Linked DNA regions of Homo sapiens: regions 1 and 3 are each linked to region 2. Evidence: promoter capture Hi-C in 16 types of primary human blood cells and fetal thymus (Javierre and others, 2016). All regions are on one chromosome and are shown on one strand. Each heading gives the region's core, a stretch centred on a gene start or on the middle of the fragment in contact. The rest is flanking DNA. Distances are from core to core; before and after follow the strand shown. Region 1 has its middle 41 kb from the start of RSPH1. Region 2 holds the start of ZNF295-AS1 (ZNF295 antisense RNA 1). Region 3 has its middle 37 kb from the start of PCSEAT.

The links. Contacts are between HindIII fragments. The CHiCAGO score rates a contact against its expected background, and 5 or more counts as called.
Region 1: a contact is called between a fragment that was not itself captured here and the fragment with the promoter of ZNF295-AS1 in region 2, in 1 of 17 cell types (M0 macrophages). The highest score is 6.1, in M0 macrophages.
Region 3: a fragment that was not itself captured here is called in contact with the fragment with the promoter of ZNF295-AS1 in region 2 in 1 of 17 cell types (monocytes); the score reaches 5.0 in monocytes.

Annotation. Positions count from the first base shown.
Region 1 is chr21:42,453,494-42,457,330 of GRCh38, forward strand. No RefSeq gene overlaps it. Among named protein-coding and RNA genes, the nearest start is that of RSPH1, 41 kb to the right of the region's middle. The HindIII fragment of the contact is 1,374 bases long and covers 1,744-3,117 here.
Region 2 is chr21:42,007,442-42,011,126 of GRCh38, forward strand. ZNF295-AS1 (ZNF295 antisense RNA 1) reads left to right here and starts at 1,753. Exons shown (of 2, transcript NR_119384.1): 1 at 1,753-2,143. ZBTB21 (zinc finger and BTB domain containing 21) reads right to left here and starts at 2,919. Exons shown (of 3, transcript NM_001098402.2): 1 at 2,811-2,919. RefSeq lists silencers at 2,092-2,201, 2,242-2,551, 2,992-3,685. The HindIII fragment of the contact is 6,657 bases long and covers 1,490-3,685 here.
Region 3 is chr21:41,615,347-41,619,143 of GRCh38, forward strand. No RefSeq gene overlaps it. Among named protein-coding and RNA genes, the nearest start is that of PCSEAT, 37 kb to the left of the region's middle. The HindIII fragment of the contact is 413 bases long and covers 1,611-2,023 here.

The sequences.
Region 1 (3,837 bases), core at 1,181-3,680, 450 kb after region 2:
CCAGTGTTTTGACAATTGATTTGCAGACTGCGTGAAAATTTAAAACTCAGCTCTCTTGAGCTGATATGAGCCACCCCAGCCCACCCCTGCAGCAGGCACGAACGTTAGTTTGCAGGGAGAGGCCAGCTGAGCTGCTGCACAGACCTGCTGGGATCATCACAGCTGTGCGCTTCAGGCCAGTGCCTCTTCCTGTAAAAGGAAACAACATTCTCTCTACAGAGGATGGAAGGACAGAAGGGCTGAGGCCCATGTGCAGGCGGGGTCAGGAGAGAGAGGAGGCCAAGTCCCTGGGTCTAGGAAAGACGGGTGGGTGGAGCCAGGCCAGGGGCACTAAGTGGAACGCTGTCTGCTCCCTGCGGAGCACTGGACAGACTTTTGGTTCCAGGGATTCATCCCGAGCTGTGTCTCTTCCGGGATCCTTGGCCAGCAGCGACTCTGGCACCTGGAGCACACCTGAAGAGAGCCCCCAAGCTCTCGCCTCTCTCCAGCCCTGCTATCCAACCAGATGTTCCCACTCCTGCTCCTCCCTGCCTCATCGCCTCAGCCGCCCGGGGTGAGCCACCTACTCTCCCAAGGCAAGACACAGCCGGCATGCTTCACACACTCACCTTGAAGTTCAGGGTTGGAAGGTCAGTCCATCCAGCTGAAGTTCACTGCTAGAGATGTAATTGAATCAGCCCTGGCAGGAGCATTTGGACCACAGGAATAGGTAAACACGGCTGCGAGTCAGCCCCTCCAGGGCTCACTGCTAAGAGGGCACATCGTGTCCTCCAGAATGAGGACTAAGATGCTGCAAGTGACGTGGACCCATCGACAGGCCACATGATTTTACAACGGTGGGCCCGAGGCACAGAGACTCTGTCCGAGGTCACCATGAGTAGAGGACGGAACTGAGCTTTAACTCAGATCCCAGTGGAATTCCTTCGGATGAAGCGCTGCTGTTGTTTATCAGCATTGAATAACTAATGTCTCATTTGCTGTTGGAAATTATTTCCTGCAATCTCCTGAATGTGTGTGCAGCCGCTGTCTGCCGGCGCGTGGGGGGTTCTTCATGAAAAGTGAGAGGGGTCCAGCTGTGTGAAAGGCCTTTGCAAATTGCCACAGCAAACTCCCAGAATTATGATGTACTTCTTCCTGTGTGGTTCCAAGTAAATGCCACTTCCGGCTGTCCAGTACCATTTTTTCCTAGGACTTAAGGCCACAAAAATGGATTAAGAAACACACATGTATACATGCAATCTTCCTGGTGAAGTCTTCAAACAAAGTTCTCCAAGAAGTCATTAAAAAATTAATCATCTGGAAATGTCATGTTTCTCCTTCTCTCTCCAAAATGTATTTCTTTCAACCATTAACTCATTCTCTTTCATTGTGTCCCATAGTGAGACAAAACTGTGTTAGGACAATAAACCAAGCAATTTTCCAAAGAAGCTATAGCACGAAAGCAACGTAAATCCCGAAGGAGAAACGCCTGCGAATGAGCTCACCGAAGGCACACTCTCCTCCCAGGAGCCTCCCCGGAGAGGCAGCCCGTTTATTTGAGTTAGTGATTTTGGAAGACACACTGCACTTTCTTTGCCTCCAGCTATCCTTGAGCCATTTTGTTCTCCTTGCGAGGTACTGATAGCACTTATTATCTAGAAAATATAACCAGACTTTGAGGAGAGGCAAGGGGCCCTATAAATTATTTATTTTTTTGCTTCTCAAACTCTGGACCGAGGACCAGGATTACAGGCATTGCCTGGAAGCTTGTTACAAATGCAGGGCCTCAGGCACCCCCGTCTCCGTGTCAGCAGCTGTGTCTTAGCAGGATCCCCAGGGCATTGCCTCACAGTCAGGGTGGTGCAAAAGTCCCGCCTGGCATCCTGGTGAGTGGACCAGGAGGGGGCAGGTGAAGGCGATATTATTGGTCCTTCGACTCCAGACAAGAACTTGCAGCTTAGCCTGAGGAAAGAAATTAGCCCATATGATGAAACACAATCTGATGACGTAAGGATTTTTGTACTTATGCCCACATGTTTAGACATGGCAGCCCGCATCCTCTTAAACCTGAACTTTAACATACCGTGACTTAGAGCCACAAACAACAAAACAGAGGGCAGGAACCAGAGTTCTCCAGAGAAACAGCCAGTGGGAAACAGGACCCACATCCATACGGATACAAACATACAGATACAGGCTGGGAGAGGGAAGGAGAGAGGGGCATTGGCTCACACTCTTACAGAAGCTGAGAAGCCCCACGATCTGCGGGAGCTGTTGGCCTCCCGTCTGGAGGCCAGTAGGCTCGAGACCCAGAGAGAATCGATGTTTTCATTCAAGTCCAATGGCAGGAAAAAGCCAATGCCTCAGTTCAAAGGCCGTCAGACATGAGGAGTTTCCTCTTAGCCTTTTGTTCCATTCAGACCTTCAACTGATTGGATGAGGCCCACCCACCCTGGGGAGGGCCGTTTGCTTGACAGTCTCCTGATTCGAATGTTCGTCTCATTCAGAAACCTCCTCACACACCCCCAGAGTGACACTGGGTCAAAACGTCTTTGCACCCTGCAGTCCAGTCAAATTCACATGTGCAGTTGAGCTTCACATTGGGCATTTCTGCCCTGGTAATGTCCTCCCATTACCAAAAACCTGGTATTTGTCCTTCTTTTCAGTGGGTTTCACAGCCCAGCAGCAGCTGGCCCTCTTGTAGAGCAGCAGTTCCCAGCCTTTTGGCACCAGGGACAAGTGTCGTGGAAGAAAATTTTTCCACAAACCAGGGTGGGGTGGGGGTGGGGAATGGTTTTGAGATGATTCAAGTGCAATTACATTTATTGTGCACACTTTATTTCTATTATCACGTTGTAATATATAATAAAATAATTATACAACTCACCATAATGTAGAATCAGTGGGAGCCCTGAGCTTGTTTTCCTGCAACTAGACAGTCCCATCTGGGGGTGATGGGAGACAGTGACAGATAATCAAGCATTAGATTCTCATAAGGAGCTCACAACCCAGATCCCTCACATGCACAGTTCACAGTAGCGTTCACAGTCCTATGAGACTAATGCCACCACTCATCTGACAGGAAGCGGAGCTCAGGCAGTAATGAGAGCAATGGGGAGTGGCTGTAGATACAGACGAAGCTTCACTTACTCATCCACCCACTGCTCATCTCCTGTTGTGCAGCCTGGTTCCCAACAGGGGTTGGAGGCCTCTGTTACAGAGGACCCTCTCCTGACCGCCAATGAGACCCATGAGCTCACCGTCTTGTCTGCCCTTCCACAGCCCACGCTCCCTCCTCAGCCCACGCCCCCTCCTCAGCCCACACTCCCTCCTCAGGCTCAGCACTGGGAAGAGTTCGTCCTTCCTCACCTCAGCCCTCAAGTGTGGAGTCCGGCGCCTCAGTCATCCACTCAACAGACATTTATGAGGGAATGTTTGGGTGCCATTAACACTGCTGGGAAAGCAGCAGTGGATCAGATACAAGCTCACTCTCAAAGAGCTTATATTTCAGTGGAAGGTGGTGAGCAATGGACTAATAAGCCAGTGAACACGTAACACCTCCTCTGCCAATACGTGAGGTGAAGAGAAGACAGCAGAGAGGGGGACAGAGGCGGAATACAAATGTTATGTTAGCAGTGAACAATCAGTAAGTAAAATAAAAACATCACTTATAGTAGCATAAAGAAACCAGAAGCAAAAGAGGATGTACTGCATGATTCAATTTATATACAACTATTTAGAGACAAATCCAATCTGTGGTGACAGAAAGCAGCACATCAGACGCTTAATGCTGGGAGTAGGGGAATGGATTGCAAATGGGCACGAAGATATTTTCAGGCTGACGGGAATCTGTGTGCT
Region 2 (3,685 bases), core at 503-3,002:
CACTACTTACCATCTACTCTACAAACTTGCATATCCAGCCTCTGCCACCCAAAATCTCTCTCTTCCCTCTCCTTTACTTGGCTAACTTCTTTCGAAAGATCCAGTTGAAATGTCACCGACTCTACAAAGCTTTTGTAATTTGCCCCTAGCCAGCAGCTCAGTCATCTAAACTACCACAATACTTCATCTCTCTGTAATAACACCACAACTTCTTCAATTAATCTTCTTTTACATGTGTCTCCCCCAAGGGACTCCCTAAAGAAAGAACCCTTGTTTGCATGCACGTATCCCTGATGCCCAGCACAAGGCCTGGCAAGCTAGGTACAGGGCAAAGAGAGAAATCATCAAACTTGAGGCTCAAGACCTGGACTGGCTCACCTTTATTTCTCCAGCATCCGTTACAGAGCCCCAAAACGTGGCAGTATTCTTTGCTTTTTCTATTAGACCTTGTGACTTTAATCACTACTGGACGATGATTCCCAAATCTGTATCTCTGTTTAGACTCTTGAGGCTCCAGCCTCTCAGGTACCTACTGAACGGTTCCATCACAGTATATCCTCAGGTCCAGCATGGTACTTAAACTCCACAACTCTCGTCCCTGCTCCCACATCTGTTTGTCCTCACATATTCCCGATTTACTTTGGTGTGTTGCCAGACCCTAAAATTTCTTCTCTTTCCCTTATAGCCTATCACTGTGACCTGGTCAAACCTAGCTCTTACATAGCTTATAATCTGCTCTCTCTACTTCCATTGGCTTTGCGGACAACTAAAACTGTCCCTTCGGCTGGGCGCAGTGGCTCATGCCTGTAATCCCAGCACTTTGGGAGACCAAGTGGGGTGGATCACGAGGTCAGGAGATCTCAAGGCCATCCTGGTCAACAGGATGAAACCCCGTCTCTACAAAAAAAAAAAAAAAAAAAAAAAAAATTAGCTGGGCGATGTGGCGGAAGCCTGTAATCCCGGCTACTCAGGAGGCTGAGGCAGGAGAATCGCTTGAACCAGGGAGGCGGAGGTTGCAAAACCAGGGAGGCGGAGGTTGCAGTGAGCCAAGATCACGCCATTGTACTCCAGCCTGGGGCAACAAGAGTGAAACTCTGTCAAAAAAAAAAAAAAAAAAAAAAGAAAAAAAGAAAAGAAAAGAAAAAATTGTCCCTTTAATTATCTCATTTCCATCGAGAGACCTTCTTAACTTAACCCCAATTTTGTTATTTACAATTTTTCCTTCAGAGTGTACACATCTAATATTCAACAGTGTAAGTTCCTCGAGGGCAGGGGTTATATCTTCTTCAACTTCTATTTCAACAGAATGAAGCACATTATACTTTCAATAAAGTGTTAAAAAGGAAAAATAAACAAAAAGTTACTTTTAAGTAAACCAGCACTTCAAATTTTGACTTTCTTTTTAACATCAATATTTAGGGGTGCTTAAATTTAAACTTAATGACTACTAGTCCTTAGAGATCATCATTTACTCCAAGTACACGAGGAAAGCTTTAAAAGATAATTTTCCATGAGAAATCTTTCTAAAATGGATTAACCCACTTTCTTGTCTTCTTAAACAAGGTATGAGGACCGTAATGTAAGCTGCTTAATTGAGGACTCAGGGTCATCGTGTGAACAATCGCTGGACTATTTTGTAACACACGCGTGCCCTCGGAGGCTCGGTGCCAGGGCTGTGAGCGCTTGCACGAAAGGAAAAACCCCAGGCCGTGTGAAGTCTAACTTTCCCCGTCCTCTCGGTCAGGCAATCCCACCGGGGCACCTGTCTAAAAACACCCCGCCTCCGAACGCGCGCTCTTGCGGAATTCTCCCGAACCGCAGAGCCCTCGTGGCTGGGACCGCATAGCAACCGGGGGCAGAGTGCGAGCCCCCAGCGGTGTGCTGGGATGGAAAAGCAGGAGCCGCTGAGGATGGACTACGGGGCGTGTTCCCGAAAAGCCGGGAAGAGATGTGGCGGGGCTGCCGCGGGCGTCTCTAAGGCCGGCACGGGTGGCGTCTTGACTCCCTGCCCCTCCAGCCGCGGACCTCGGACGGGGGGAAGGGGGCTCCTCCAAGCGGGGAGACGGTCGCCGGCCGAGCAGCAGGGCTCCTGGCCGGCGGAGGGTGCTATGCTCTGCGGGACCGCCGGGAAGTCCCAGACAAGGTCTGCGGGGGCTCTGGAGGAAAAAAAACGCGCTGTGAGGTCCAGGCGTCCGCGGGAGGGGCCGGGGGCGGGGAGGGAGCGTCCAGCGGGCACCGAGCGGTCACGCTCCGGCCACCGGGCCGAGGACGGGGCGGCGGGGCTAGGTCCCGGACCGTGAAGGGAGCGGCGGGTCGCGGCAGGTGCGGGGTCCCCAAGGCCGCCGGCCAGCTTCCGCGCACACCCCGCGGCCCGGGCCGCCGGCCCCCAACCCCTGCCCGGAACAGGAGAACGCGCCCTTCTCCACGAGGCGTTTCAACCGCTCCGCGCGAGGGGCGCGCGCCTGGGCCAGGCGTGTCCCCTACCCCAGGGGCAGCTCGGCCAGGGTGAAGAGTGAAGCCCGTGAGGGAATGGAGCATGCGCATTCGCGAGGGCGAGGCCAAGTGCTGGCAGGGAGCGTGCGCAGTGTGAAGGTACAATCGGCTACGTGGGAACCCGGGACATGCTCGGTGAGCGCCCAGGTCCCGCGCACGCGCAGAAGCGCTCGGAGCCCGCAACCCGCTGGTGGAGAAAAAAGAGGAGAGAAATCACCTCAGAGTTACGTCAGGAAAGGCCGCGTTTTGCGGGGAGGCTGTAGCCTCCCAAGGAGCCCCGCAGTTCTCCTAGAGCTAGGGGCGTGACAGTTACTCACCGGTCTTCAGTCTCGAGGCAGACGCCGGGCCCCTTTCCGCTCACACTCGGCTCGCGCGCGCCGCAGCCGCCGCTGCCGCTGTGATTCCATCCATCTTGAATTTGACGTCATCCCACACCAGGGATGAGGTCATCGCAGGCATCGCTCGTCACGTGCGCGGCACTCTGATTGGGCGCCGGGCGCCGGAGGGCGGGGCGGGGGGGGGGCCTCGCGGCGCAGGGGGACGGGGGAGGGCGGGCCTGCCCGGAGCCGCGCGCCGAACGGACGCTGCCGCGCTGCAAGCCCGCGCTCTCGGTCCATGAGGGGAGCCTGCGGCGGCCGTTAGGGGAGGCGGCCGGGCTGGGGGCCACGGCGAGGAGGCTGAGCGCCCCGGCCGGGTGGAGTCCGTCGCGGCGAGGAGCGCGCCGATTCTCAGGGGACTTTGCCGCCTGCCGGAGGCGCCCTTGCTGCGGGGTCGCCCCGGGTCATTCGGCCGCGGTCCTGCCCAGCTGGGCCGCCAGTAGTCCCCGCTTCCGGCGCGGCGGGATGCGTGGCGCGAGCGCTTAGTCCCTCGGAGGGGAGGACGCGCTCCCGTTCACCGGTGGACGGCGGGCGACTCCCCGAGCCGACGACCCCGACAGCGACGGGAGCGACGCGCGGCTTTCTGACGGGCGCGGGCGGCGAGCGGGGCCCTGCGGTCCTCGGGTCGGCGGCAGACGCTCCCGGCCCGCGAGGAAAGCCCGCGGGAGGCGGCTCCTGCCGCTCGCTAGTCGCTCAGAGCGCTTCCATTTCCTCCTCCCGACGCAACCTGGCCACCTGGCCCCTGGGCGGGGACCCGGCGGCCGCGGCCAGGGCGTCCGGGCTCGTTCGCCGCGCAGATGGGGGTCGGTCCTGAC
Region 3 (3,797 bases), core at 567-3,066, 390 kb before region 2:
AGATTGCTTGAGTCAGTGAGTTCGAGGCTTCAGTGAGCTGTGACTCCTGCCATGGCACTCCAGCTCCAGCCTGGGCAACAGGGAAAGACCCTGTCTCAAAGAAAAGAAAAAGGAATATTTGGCTTCTTTCCAGTCTTTCACCATTATTTAAAATGCCACAAGAAATCATCTCATGCACAATATCATTTTGCACATGTGCAAACAGAGCTGGAGGGCAGATTCCCAGAAGCATAAGCGTCTGGTCAAAAGGTGGATATGCATTCATAGCTTTGCTGGAAATTGCCACTTTGCCTCCAATTTGTACTCTGCCAGCAATATGTGAAAGTATCTGTTTCCCCACTGCCTGCCTAAGGGAGTGTATGTCTCACTTTTGTGTTGTTGCCAATCCAGAAGAAGCATATTGCGTAGACTTTCATTTGAGACTCCATCTTTCTGTGTGGTTTGGCAGAAGACTGGGGGAACATTCTTATACTGGCTCTAAATGGAATGCAAGGATACTGCATTAACTTATGACTCAGTAAAGTAATTTATTTTGGGGAGCTAAAATAATCAGTTTGCTGCTTTCTCATGATTTTTAACTTGAAGCAACATGAAACTGGGAAAATAAAAATGGATAGCAAGACTTTTAGACAATGTCTGTTCAGTGATGTTTCAAACATATTTTTGGCAGGAACTAGAAATCAGTCCATGTAGCCCAAGAATGATGCCAATTCCATATTCTGTGTTGCTGATTATAAAGGAAGCAAAATGTTCCAGTAAGCAGATGCAAAAGCAGCCATCAGCTCTCAGATACAGGAGCAGATGAGCTGGAGACGTCCTCACGCGAGCACCGGCCGCTCTTCCCCATGCTGTGGGCAGCTTGCCTGTGGGAAAGGCCAAAGATTCCTTAAAAAGAGATTCAAATCTGCTCAAGTGCCAGGATAAGCATTTAATCAGGAGCCCAGCATCCTGCTCCCCAATGAGTGGGGAAGATTTTCTAGGCCTGGAAAGTTTTTAAGAGGTAATGTGCTATTCTTAGTCATAACAAATGAAAGACAACCCACATGTCCAGCCAGGCAGGATGGCCAATGGGCTGTTCAGTTGCCAGCTGCCTTCCCAGCCCTCCGGGACAGAGTCTCCTGTGATTCTGGCAGCATCCCCAGGACAGAGCCCTCAGGACCAAGGTAGAAAGCGCTTGGGCAGGGCAGTGGTCTCCCAGTCAGCAGGCAGACCTCCTGGGACCACGGGGTCAGATGTGGGGCCTGAATGACTCCTGAGTCACAGCCCTGTCCCCTCTGACATCTCCCACTCCAATGCCATGGTCTGGCCACGTGCCTTGGCTTCCCTTCCTACACTTCAGTGGTCTAAGAGGATAATTCCAAGAGCCCCTAATCTAGCTCTGGTCTGCCCCTCGTCTGAAGACTAGATTCCTCCACTCACTGCCTAATACACCTGGGCTCCATCCTGTGAATGAAGTAAGTTGTTCAGAGCTACAGTCAAAGCTGCGAGCGGGAATTCTCACAGCTCCTGGGATCTCTCACCAGTTCCAACAAACTTCCCACCTCTCCAAGTCAGACTAAGCCTGAGATGTGTAACCTTCAGCTTAGTCTGCCTTAAACCAGCATTTCCCAAGCTTACATTTAGAGATCCTCTTTTTAAAAAAATCCTGTGGACTCCTAAGTTTTTGTTAAAGTATTTTTATTTTACTGCTACTTGTATGTGTGGCAACACTAGAGGACTTACAAATATATTACGTTGATAGCTCTTTTAGTTTTTTGTTGTTTTGTTGTTTCTTTTCTTTTCTTTTCTTTTTAGAGACAGTCTTGCTTGTTGCCCAGGCTGGAGTGCAGTGGTGTGATCACAGCTCATTACAACCTCAATCACCTGGGCTCAAGTAAGCCTCCCATCTCAGCCTCCTGAGTAGCTGGGACCACAGGTGTGTGGCACATTACCCAGCCATGATAGGTCTTATGTAAATAAAAATCAAAGAGATTTATCAATGAAATTAGAATACAACACCAATACATTTCAAATTAACAATGTAAGCTTAATTTGATGGATTATGCTATTTTGTTAAAACTGAGTCACCAATGCTGGGTTCACATTTTTAAAATACCCATATTTGTGTTCTATATTTTACTTATAGATTTAGTCCTTTTGATTTTGAGAATAATGACCCTCTTTTGAGTGATGGTTGTTATTATTTCTCTTTTTTAACAAAGAGCTCAGTTTATCCTCTAATCTATTACTTTGATGATCCCGAGAATATGAGTCCACTCAAAAATATAATAAAAATTAACTTGTAGTAAGAAAATCTACACTGTATTTTTTTTCACTAGCCTTATTGTTAATGAGTTGCCGTGGTTTCTAGGAAGAGAGGCAGAATTTACATATGTCGCCTGTCCCTGTAGGAGAGTGGTTCCCCCTGCTGCAGTGCAGGGCAAGACTGTGGGGTCTGCTTTCCCCAAGCGTCATGTCAGGGTGACCAGGGCTTGTTTGATGTGGTAGGCTACACAGCCTTCATTGATTCATTTGGACCAGATGCCAACATGATCATGGCTACCCAGTGTGTGTTTTCCAGTGTTGATCCAGTGAAAGCAGAGTAATGAGGTTGCACGGTGTCCGACCACTGAAGAAGTTCACCCAACGGGTCCAATCATGTATGTAACACACACTCAAGCACATGCGCAGACACACACACACACACACACACACACAGTGTAAACACAGAATGAAAGCACTCAAGACAGCACCATGAGCCGGGCGCGGTGGCCCACGCCTGTAATCCCAGCATTTTGGGAGGCCAAGGCGGGTGGATCACCTGAGGTCGGGAGTTCAAGATCAGCCTGGCCAACATGGCAAAACCTCGTCTCTATTAAAAATACAAAAATTAGCCTGGCATGGTGGTGGTACACATCTGTAATCCCAACTATTCAAGAGGCTGAGGCAGGAGAATCGCTTGAACCAAGACGGTGGAGGTTGCAGTGAGACGAGATTGCACCACTGTACTCAGCATGGGGAACAGAGTGACTGTCTCAAAAAAAAAAAAAAAAAAAAAGACAACACCATGAGATTAACCTGTTTCCAAAAAAGTGTTAAAAACTTTGCCAATAAAGACCTAAAAGTATGACTCATTTGCTGATGCATATAGGACTAAGGAGCGTGCTCAGGACACGGATGGAGGGCTGAGGGCTGTGTTAGGGCCTCTACGAATGTTCATATCCCTCCTTAATTTGTATGTTGAATCCCTAACCCCCAATGTGATGGTACTTGCAGATAGGGCCTTTGGGGGTGGTTAGGTTTAGATGAGGTCAAGAGAGTAGGACCCTCATAATGGGATTAGTGCCCTTATAAGAAGAGAAAGGTCGATCGATCAATCTGTCTCTGTGTATCTATCTATCTATCTATCTGTCTCCGCAAATGCCCCAGAAAAGGCCTTGTGAGAACCTGTGAGAAGGCGGCCGTCTGAAAACCTGGAAGACAGTCCTCTCCAGAACCCAACCACGCTGGCACCCTGATCTCAGACTTCCAGCCTCCAAAACAAAGAGAAAATAAGTGTCTGTAGTTTCAGCCACCTGGACATGGTATTTTGTTAGAGCAGCCTGAGATGGCTAAGACAGAGTATAAACTGGCGCAGTCTTTGGGAGAGCAGGTTAGCAATGTCTAATAAAATTAAAACTCTTCAGATCCATTGATCAGCTTCTGAAATGTTTCCATCATTACACAAAGACATGAAAGCATGTGTACTGTGTATTTATTTGTGTGTGTGTGTGTGTGTGTGTGTGTGTGTGTACTCTCTATTTATTACAGTATGCTTT